3 separate regions of the Homo sapiens genome follow, and regions 2 and 3 are each linked to region 1. Evidence: promoter capture Hi-C in 16 types of primary human blood cells and fetal thymus (Javierre and others, 2016). All regions are on one chromosome and are shown on one strand. The core of a region is centred on a gene start or on the middle of the fragment in contact, and the rest is flanking DNA. Distances in the headings are between cores, read along the strand shown.

Region 1 (2,759 bases), core at 115-2,614:
TAAATCTAAATCCTTTTCTTCACTTTCAGGGTGGATTACTGGACAAATTAACATTTGTATGGCATTTTTACATCTCTATAGCAGTTCTACATTTTGATTTGAAATTTATATTTGCATAAACCTTACAAAAAGTACTCACTTTGGACCTCACAAAAGACTTAAAACCGAGACAGTTAAAAATGACCCAGTTCAAGTCAAGAGGACCTGAGAGCGCTCGGATATGGCCGTTCAGTGCCTGTGCAACGTCTTAAATCCTCTCTTCCTTCAGTTTCTGTCTGCATTGTTCCCAATGTCTGGCTTCTGATTACTCCTAGGTCCTAAGGACGCTGGGAAAAGGGGACGAATTCATTCTCAGCACCCTCGGTTTAGGATCTGTGTCCGTCTAAAGGAAATTAAGGGGTTTCATTCTTTTCCAAACTCAGCTCAATTACCTCTTCCTAAAATCTTTCCTTTAACACCCTTTTCTCCTGTTACCATTTCCCTCTAGCCCCCATATTCAGTTAGTTCTTTCTGACAGGACTAAGCACCTCTTCAAAACAGAAAACCCGGGCCGGGAGCAGCGGCGGGCGCCTGCAGTCCCAGTAGCACTTTGGTAAGCCGAGGTGGGAGGATCGTTTGAGCCTGGGCGGTTACAGTGAATAGTGATGGTGCCACTGCACTCCAGCCAGGGAGACAAAAGTGAAACCCTGTTCCAAAACACAAACCTGAAAACCTAATTTTTTAACTTTTTCTTTTGAGGTGGAGTTTCGCTCTGGTTGCCCAAGCTGGGGGTGCAATGGGGCGATCTCGGCTCACCGCAACCCCCGACTCCCGGGTTCAAGCGATTCTCCTGCCTCAGCCTCCCGAGTAGCTGGGATTACAGGTGTGCGCCACCACACCTGGCTAATTTTGTACTTTTAGTAGAGACGGGGTTTCTCCATTTTGGTCAGGCTGGTCTCGAACTCCCGACCTCAGGTGATCCGCCCGCCTCGGCTGCCCAAAGTGCTGGGATTACAGGCGTGAGCCACCGCGCCCGGCCTCTTTTTTTTTTTTCCCCATCTTTTGACACACTCAACCTCCTCAACTAAACCTAGAAAACCTCATTTCTTACTTGTCTGCTCACTCCAATATACCAGGCTGCAATCATATTCTTGGGCCTTACTCTTAAAATAAAAAAAAAAAAAGTCAAGAGGAGAAAATTCGAAGGCACATTCTTTTCTCCTTAAAGGAAAAATCAGGAGTGCCCAGGGAAGACAGAAACACAAAGACAGACAGAAAACAAATCCACTAAAACTGTACTGACCTCCTTGCCTTTTGCCTTCTCCATACTTGTAGAAGAAGCGGAGCCTCGCAACATGCTTCCAAAATGGCCCCTGCCCCAAGATTGCTATTTGCAAAGTCTCCTCCCACTTCCTGCCGCCCGAAGACCCTTTTTCTCTCCACCTCACCTCTTCTTTTCTTCTCCCCTTCTGTTCCCTCCCCCACAATTTGTAAATGCTAAAATTGCATTCTTTCTTATTCATGGGGTGACTTTTGTCTGGGTTGAATTACTAATACTATTCCTGGCCCTTTTCTGTTCACTTTAAATGTAATTATCCAAAGTATGGTTCCGGAGACATTGGGAGATTGAGCACTCCTTCAGAACGATTCTACGGGGAAAAAAAACAAAAAACAAAAAACAAAAAAACAGTGGCCAGAGACTTGAGCAGGATGTGTGAAGGGATTTAATAATGGAACTTGTGGCAACAGTAGACTTCAGAGACCAGACTGGCGGCTTGAAGAAAGCTATTTTCTCGTACCAAATACATTCCATTTCCTAAGTAAGTTACTCAACCAACTAAAACTCCAGGTTTCTCTGTACTAATACCGAGCATCTTTTCATCTGCCAACGAACTAATAATAGTAGCTTTTAAAGTCTATAGAGTATTTGTTATTTATTTTGTAGAGGGCAAGTGGGGGGGTCTGGCTATTTTGACCTGGCTGGTCTCGAACTCCTGCCCTCAAGTAATTCTCCAGCCTTGTCCTCCCAAAGTGTTGGGATTACAGGCGTGAGCCACCACTCCCCGCCCGAGTATTTTTTTATATCTCAAATTGTGAGTTTTAAATTCAGTCATTATTGTTCCCCATTTTATATATGACTAAAGTTGGTATAAATTTTTATTGGTAACTTTTTCAATAGCACAGTAAGTGAACCCCTAACCTACTGACTCCCAAAGAAGTTCAAGTTTTTCTCCTTAAAATAATTTGAAAAATCTTTCCTCAGATCAGTGCTCCCTGTCAGATTGTCAAGAGATGTGAAGTGAAGGAAGCAGTGGCTGTGCGACTGAAACCCTCCCTTGTCAGGGTCCAAAGTCTCTTTTGTTCTTTGGTTTACTTTGTTGTTTTTTTTTCCTACATCTCATTGCTTGTCCTAAAATGATAAATAAGAGACTGTCTTTATCCAAATGGTGTTAGTAATCTGCTCACAGGCTAGAAATCCACGGACAGAAAAAGTAAGTAAACGGAGCCCAGGAATAGAGAAGGAAGTGCAGGTTGTGGACTGGGCAACCCCCAAGGCGGCAAAGAGGAAACCAGGTGAGTTGAGGTCATCTGGGAGATATTAGGGCTTTGATTTAACAATTCTTTACCACAGCCTTTGGTAACCACCAGTAGGACTTTCTAATTAAGGTTTGTGTATAAAGTGTATAACTGAATCATCTTTCTTTTGTCAGTGTAATTGAACGTAACATTCAGAATAACTGGAGTTCTGGGCTGGGCATGGTGGCTCACGCCTGTAATCT
Region 2 (2,759 bases), core at 78-2,577, 240 kb before region 1:
GCTGCCCAGGAGGCTGAGGCAGGAGAATCACTTGAACCCAGGAGGCGGAGGTTGCAGTGAGCCAAGATCGCACCACTGCACTCCAGCCAGGGTGACAGAGTGAGAATCTGTCTCAAAAAAAAAAAGTCAGTTTTGTATATGGAGATTCCAACACAAAGTAGGTCACCCCTGCCTCAAGTTTATATATTTTTTAAAGCTTTACATGCCTGCATCATTCTGTGTAAATTGCTTTATAAACAGTGTTCCCAGTATCAATAATATATGTCTTAAGGGAAAAAAAATTCTCACCTTTTAAGACCATTGCCGTATTGCCCTATGAACTTCAAGGTTGACAGCCGTTTTTTGGATCGTCCAAAGTAAATGATGTCTGAAGCTTCCTCTGTAATTGACAGTGACTTTTAAGGTGGTTAGGAAGACTCTTTGACACTGGCCTGAGGCCCAGCTGTCAGGACCTCACATTCCTCAGAACATCAGGACAAACCCATAGCTCTTGGGTCAGCCCAGAGACAAGGATTTTCATCAGAATCCACAGTCTCTGACAAGGGTCTTAATGGTATTACAGTCAGCCCAAGGTACGGCAGGCTCCACATTCATAGACTCAACTAATCTTGGACTGAAAATATTCAGAAAAAAATAAATTGCGTCTGGACTGACCACGTACAGACTTTTTTTTTGTCATTATTCTCTAAACAACAAAGTATAACAACTATTTAATAGCATTTACACTGCATTGGGTATTATAAGGAACCTGGAAAAGATTTAAAGTATACAGGAGGATATATATAGGTTATACGGAAATACCGTGCCATCTTCTTTCCACAGCTTTTGGTATCCTAGAAAGGTCCTGGAATCCATTCCCTACAGATACTAAGAAACAACTGTATACTGAAAGAGATGAGACAGACCTAACCATGTGGCCTTAGGTAGAGTTTAAAAGTCTGAGCCTTAATTTCCATGTGGTGTAAGAGGCAACTACGTAATACTTATATCACGGTGTTGCTGATGAAGATAAATGAAACAAATGAAATGAGATGATGTATTTGTGAAATCCTGAACACAAAACTTGGCACTTGGTGGGTGTTACCAAATTACAAGTGTTATAATTACTTGTACCACTAGTAATTTCCCCACGAATTTAGCCCTTAACCAGGCCCATGTGAGACTAAGAGGGGCAGGATGACCTCTGCTCTGATACTACCTGGGAAAGAAGGCTAACCATTTCAGACGTTCCAAATCATTCTCCCGACCTCTCCAGGTATTCTGGAATTCTAGACAGTAATCCTCTGGACTTCAGAATATATTAATACCAATCTCCAGAACCAAGAATGTTCTTCTTGTTGGCCTACCTGAATACATGCTGAAGAATTGTCCTGAGGACCCTCTGTCAGTCTGGGTACAGATATGCTATAGTTCAGTGGCACATGGTATGAGGTGTGTAAAAGCCACCAAACATTCTGCTTCTCTGAAACTAACTGGACCTCCTATGATATGTTCCTATGAGGGGTTAGGCATTAGGTAAGGATATCCATAATGACAATCTTAGCTAACACTTATTGATTGTTTAGTATATGCTAGGTACTATGTTTATACTTACATGCACAGCTTATTTAATATTTATAACAAAACAAGAAAGGTATTATTACTATGACCTGCATGTCACAGATGAGCAAATGTAAGTCTAAGGAGTTTTAAAAACCTGCCCAAGGTCACAGAGCTGATAGAGGGTACAGCTAGGATTATAACCCAAAGTTCTAAGTCTTGGTACAGACATGGTATAGCTCTGAACCAAATCCCATGTGTTCATTACACACTACATGAACTCACGTGCATGGTTACCCGGTTCTGAGCATGGGAATAAACCACTGAACAGGCCAGGCATGGCTCCTGCCTTGGACAACACTATGTCATGGTAGGAGAAACAGATTGAAAGTAAACTAATAAATAAGATCATTTCTGACTGAGTATTAAGTGAAGAAAACAAAACCAGGGTAATGCGATAGAGAATTAACAGGAACGTGGCCTGCAGACAGAATGATCAGGGAAGGCCACTGGCAGATGGTTAACATGAGATGGATTCAAACGATGAGGGGTCAGCCATGTGTGGGTGGAGTGTTCTAAGGGAGGAAGTGGGAAGAACAAGAAAAGGCCAAAGAGGTGCATAGGGCCAAATAATGTAAGGTCTTGGAAGAGATGCTGAGAGTACAAATTGTATTAAGTAATGGAAAACCACTGAGGGTTTTCAGCAGGAAAATGATATTAATGTACATTTTCAGCAGGAAAATGTACATTAAAAGAAAGAAAATCACTCAGGATGCTGTGTGGGGAATGGACTATAAAGGGGCAAGACTAGAGAATTTTTTAAAAACCCGGAAAGTACTGTAGTCATTTTCTATGGGTCAAGATTGATCTAGCTCCGTTTGAACAACGGATAGATTCTACTTTTAGTCATCTTCCTTCTACTTTATTACTAGTTGATGCTACTATGTAACTGAAGTGTGAGTTCCTTCTGAAGGTCTGAATATCCGTCACTTGTCTGTGTTTCAAACATTTTGTTCATGACCCATATAAAAAGAGTTGCTTCTTTTCATAAGGAATTCCCTTAGAATATATCACATATATTCTGTCATTTATTTTAGGAATTCAAAAAAATGAACTTAATATTCAGGCTAGAAGTGAAAAATTACTTTTTTCAGCATGGGTTTTTTCTGTTGTTGTTACAAACTCTTCTTTCTCATTTAAACAATAAAAGACCAAGAATA
Region 3 (2,759 bases), core at 143-2,642, 220 kb before region 1:
TGCATCCCAGCCTGGGCCACAGAGCAAGACCCTGTCTCCAAATCCAACCAACCAATCTAGCTGGAGGAGCTGAGAAGTCTTCCATTTGTATCTAATTTTGTTGTTACTCCATGTCACTGTCACTTGTTAAGTTACTACACCACCAGTTGAAAATGGTACTGGGGAAGTGGCTACCACAGGGTGGTTTGGGGGAATGGAGGTTGTGAAGCAGTAGCCACAAAATCCATATAAAACTGAGGCTGAGGAATTTTTCTGAGATAAAATTCACAGTCCTTCCAGCACTGCCCTGAGCATTTTTCTTAAACTCACTCGAAACTATTATTTCTTCATTTGTCTTCCACCTCAGCTACCTTTTAACTTTTTGTTCCACCTTTTCCAGCTTGACATCATTCTCTAAAGAGAGATGAAAACTGAGTATCTGCTGAATATTGCCTGTTTAACTCTGCTATGTTAAAATTATACAGTCTGTCCCACAGAGCAAGGGTGGCCTTCCCTGGCTTTCTTTATACCTCCATTTCTGTGGTTTCAAATTTGGTACATCCCTGATATCTGTTCCTATATTTAGTAAATCCAAATTACCAAAAGATGTCAAAAAAAAAAAAAAAAAAAAAAGAAACATAAAGAAAAACCCGGACGTTCCACTGTGAATTAAATAGCACTAACTGCTATAATTTGCTGTATGGGAAATGGCAGATGAGAGAAAAAACCTCTGTCATTCCCCTCTGCAATCTGACTATCTGAAATGACACCTGAGAAGCTCTAAAAGGCAGACAGGCATGGCAGAGAAGAAGAAATGACCAAATAACTAAAAGGTGAGATTCCTATCCTTAGAGAGGTTACATTTTTGAAAAGACTCAGGAGGCCATAGAGTTTGAAATCAATATATGCAAATTACTCTGTTTGAAGGGCAACTTTAATGTTTAAATTGTCAGTGTGTTAGGCAGACTAAGGTTAGGCAGGATTGGTAGAATCACAGTTCTGCTGACCAACAATTAAACAGTTGTGTTAAATGATAAATGTAGGGCCTTCCAACCACTTGGTGTTCACTGAAGAGCACCTAAAGGGTTCAGCCTGGCCCAGAATATATCTTTATTATGCTTTCATCGTTTTAAAAAAAGCCTATACAGCTCAAATAAATAAATAAATCCATAAATCAAGTTCACTTGCTGAGTATTCCTCAGGGGACGGGCAAAACCTTTCTTCATGGCGGGCGCAGAGACCCTCCCCGACCCCGACCCCACCTCGGCACTCACGAGTTGGCGTGGATGAAATCCAGACGCAGCTGGGCCCGCTGAAGCGCAGGGTACCTGTCGTCCATGCCCTCGAACACGACCCGCGCAACTCAAGGGGACAAGGACACCTGACCGGCAGCCGTTCGCCTGCGCCCGCGCCCACTCCCACGCCCACGCTCACGCGCAGAGGGCGGGTTCAGCAAACACGTGCTCCCCCTTGCGGCGGGACCGCGAAGCTCCCACTGCGTCGTCGACTCAGTTGTCTCGCGAGGTTTGTTGCTTGGTCTTGGAGCCACAATTTGAGAATGACGTATCTGAGTTAGAGTCTCCTGGAATTGAGGTTTATGTAACTTTTTCAGACGGTTGTTCCCCACCCTGCTCCTCTCAATCACTCCCCAGCTGGAAAATGGAGCCCAAAACTGGTATTAAAATTTGATTCGAAATGATTACACATTCACACAAGATGGTGGGGGAACGTGGGCGGCAAGGCAGGACAGTGCGGGGAAGGTGAGTGGGTAGTTCTCTTTGCTTGTCCATTGTGTTACATAGAACCAGAGGTAAGAGTGCTCTGTCCTGTAATCCTAGCACTTACCTTCCTGTGTCTCTTGAGTTGATCATGTTTTTTCTATTTGGAGGAAAAAATGAAAAACAAAAGTGACAAGCCGGAGAGAAAACAAAAGGAATAACTAAAGACAATCAGAACAGAATTTGGACTTTAATATAGCGGCTTGTCCCTAGGTGAGAATAGCTGCCCCCACCTGAATGGATCACTAACCTTTTTTACCTGTCAGCTGACATGCGACTATTGCACTTGCTGGCCTGGCTCAATGCCTAGATATTCGGTATTGCTCCAAAAGATAGAACTAGGCAGGTAGAAGGTAGGGGTGCGGGGTTGGGGCGGGTAGATAAATATGAGGAAGGACTGCGCAGATGTGTAGAACAGCTGTATAAATAAATGGTGTTTCTCTACTCACAAAGCCCTGAGTTCTTAAGTCACCAAAACCCAAGCTGATTCAATGTCTTTTGACTTGGAAACCAAGGTAGTTCAATAATACTCAGCAAAGATTTTACATGATAGTCATAAAGTCAGAAACAAACATCTATTAAATAAAGAACTTGAACTAGATGTGTTTGTAATTTCCAGGCATCATACAGGCAGTGAAGCTCTCAGAAAAGAAAAAAAAAATAGTTTTGGAGTAGTCATTCTACTTCCAAAGAGAGGAGTTTATCAACTACTACATTTATGGGAATCAGGAGAGGAAGAGAGAATTTGAATGGCAACCCGAAGGAACATGATGTTCTAATTTCAAAACTGGAAGTAAACATAAACATTTCAAGTAATTTTCCTGATTGCATTTTTGTTTTAACAGTGGCTGATGTGGTGATGTTTTGACAGCAAAATTCTCTTTACTAAGCAACTTGAGCGATCTTTCCAATTTTTCCTTCTATAGAACTTCACAAATACGATATTTTATTTTCATTTTATGAGCAAGAAAAGCTTGACAAGTCTCTTCTGGATTTATTTTA

The links. Contacts are between HindIII fragments. The CHiCAGO score rates a contact against its expected background, and 5 or more counts as called.
Region 2: a contact is called between the fragment with the promoter of MORC1-AS1 here and the fragment with the promoter of DPPA4 in region 1, in 16 of 17 cell types (neutrophils, activated CD4 T cells, naive CD8 T cells and 13 more). The highest score is 17.3, in neutrophils.
Region 3: the fragment with the promoter of MORC1 here is called in contact with the fragment with the promoter of DPPA4 in region 1 in 5 of 17 cell types (non-activated CD4 T cells, activated CD4 T cells, neutrophils and 2 more); the score reaches 6.7 in non-activated CD4 T cells.

Annotation. Positions count from the first base shown.
Region 1 is chr3:109,336,182-109,338,940 of GRCh38, forward strand. DPPA4 (developmental pluripotency associated 4) reads right to left here and starts at 1,365. Exons shown (of 7, transcript NM_018189.4): 1 at 1,283-1,365. The coding sequence starts at 1,336. RefSeq lists enhancers at 1-253, 254-862, 863-1,470, 2,689-2,759. The HindIII fragment of the contact is 8,399 bases long and covers 1-2,759 here.
Region 2 is chr3:109,100,129-109,102,887 of GRCh38, forward strand. MORC1-AS1 (MORC1 antisense RNA 1) reads left to right here and starts at 1,328. Exons shown (of 3, transcript NR_144461.1): 1 at 1,328-1,431. It overlaps MORC1 (MORC family CW-type zinc finger 1), which reads right to left. Exons shown (of 28, transcript NM_014429.4): 5 at 289-379. The HindIII fragment of the contact is 2,885 bases long and covers 372-2,759 here.
Region 3 is chr3:109,116,742-109,119,500 of GRCh38, forward strand. MORC1 (MORC family CW-type zinc finger 1) reads right to left here and starts at 1,393. Exons shown (of 28, transcript NM_014429.4): 1 at 1,254-1,393. The coding sequence starts at 1,318. The HindIII fragment of the contact is 4,037 bases long and covers 1-2,728 here.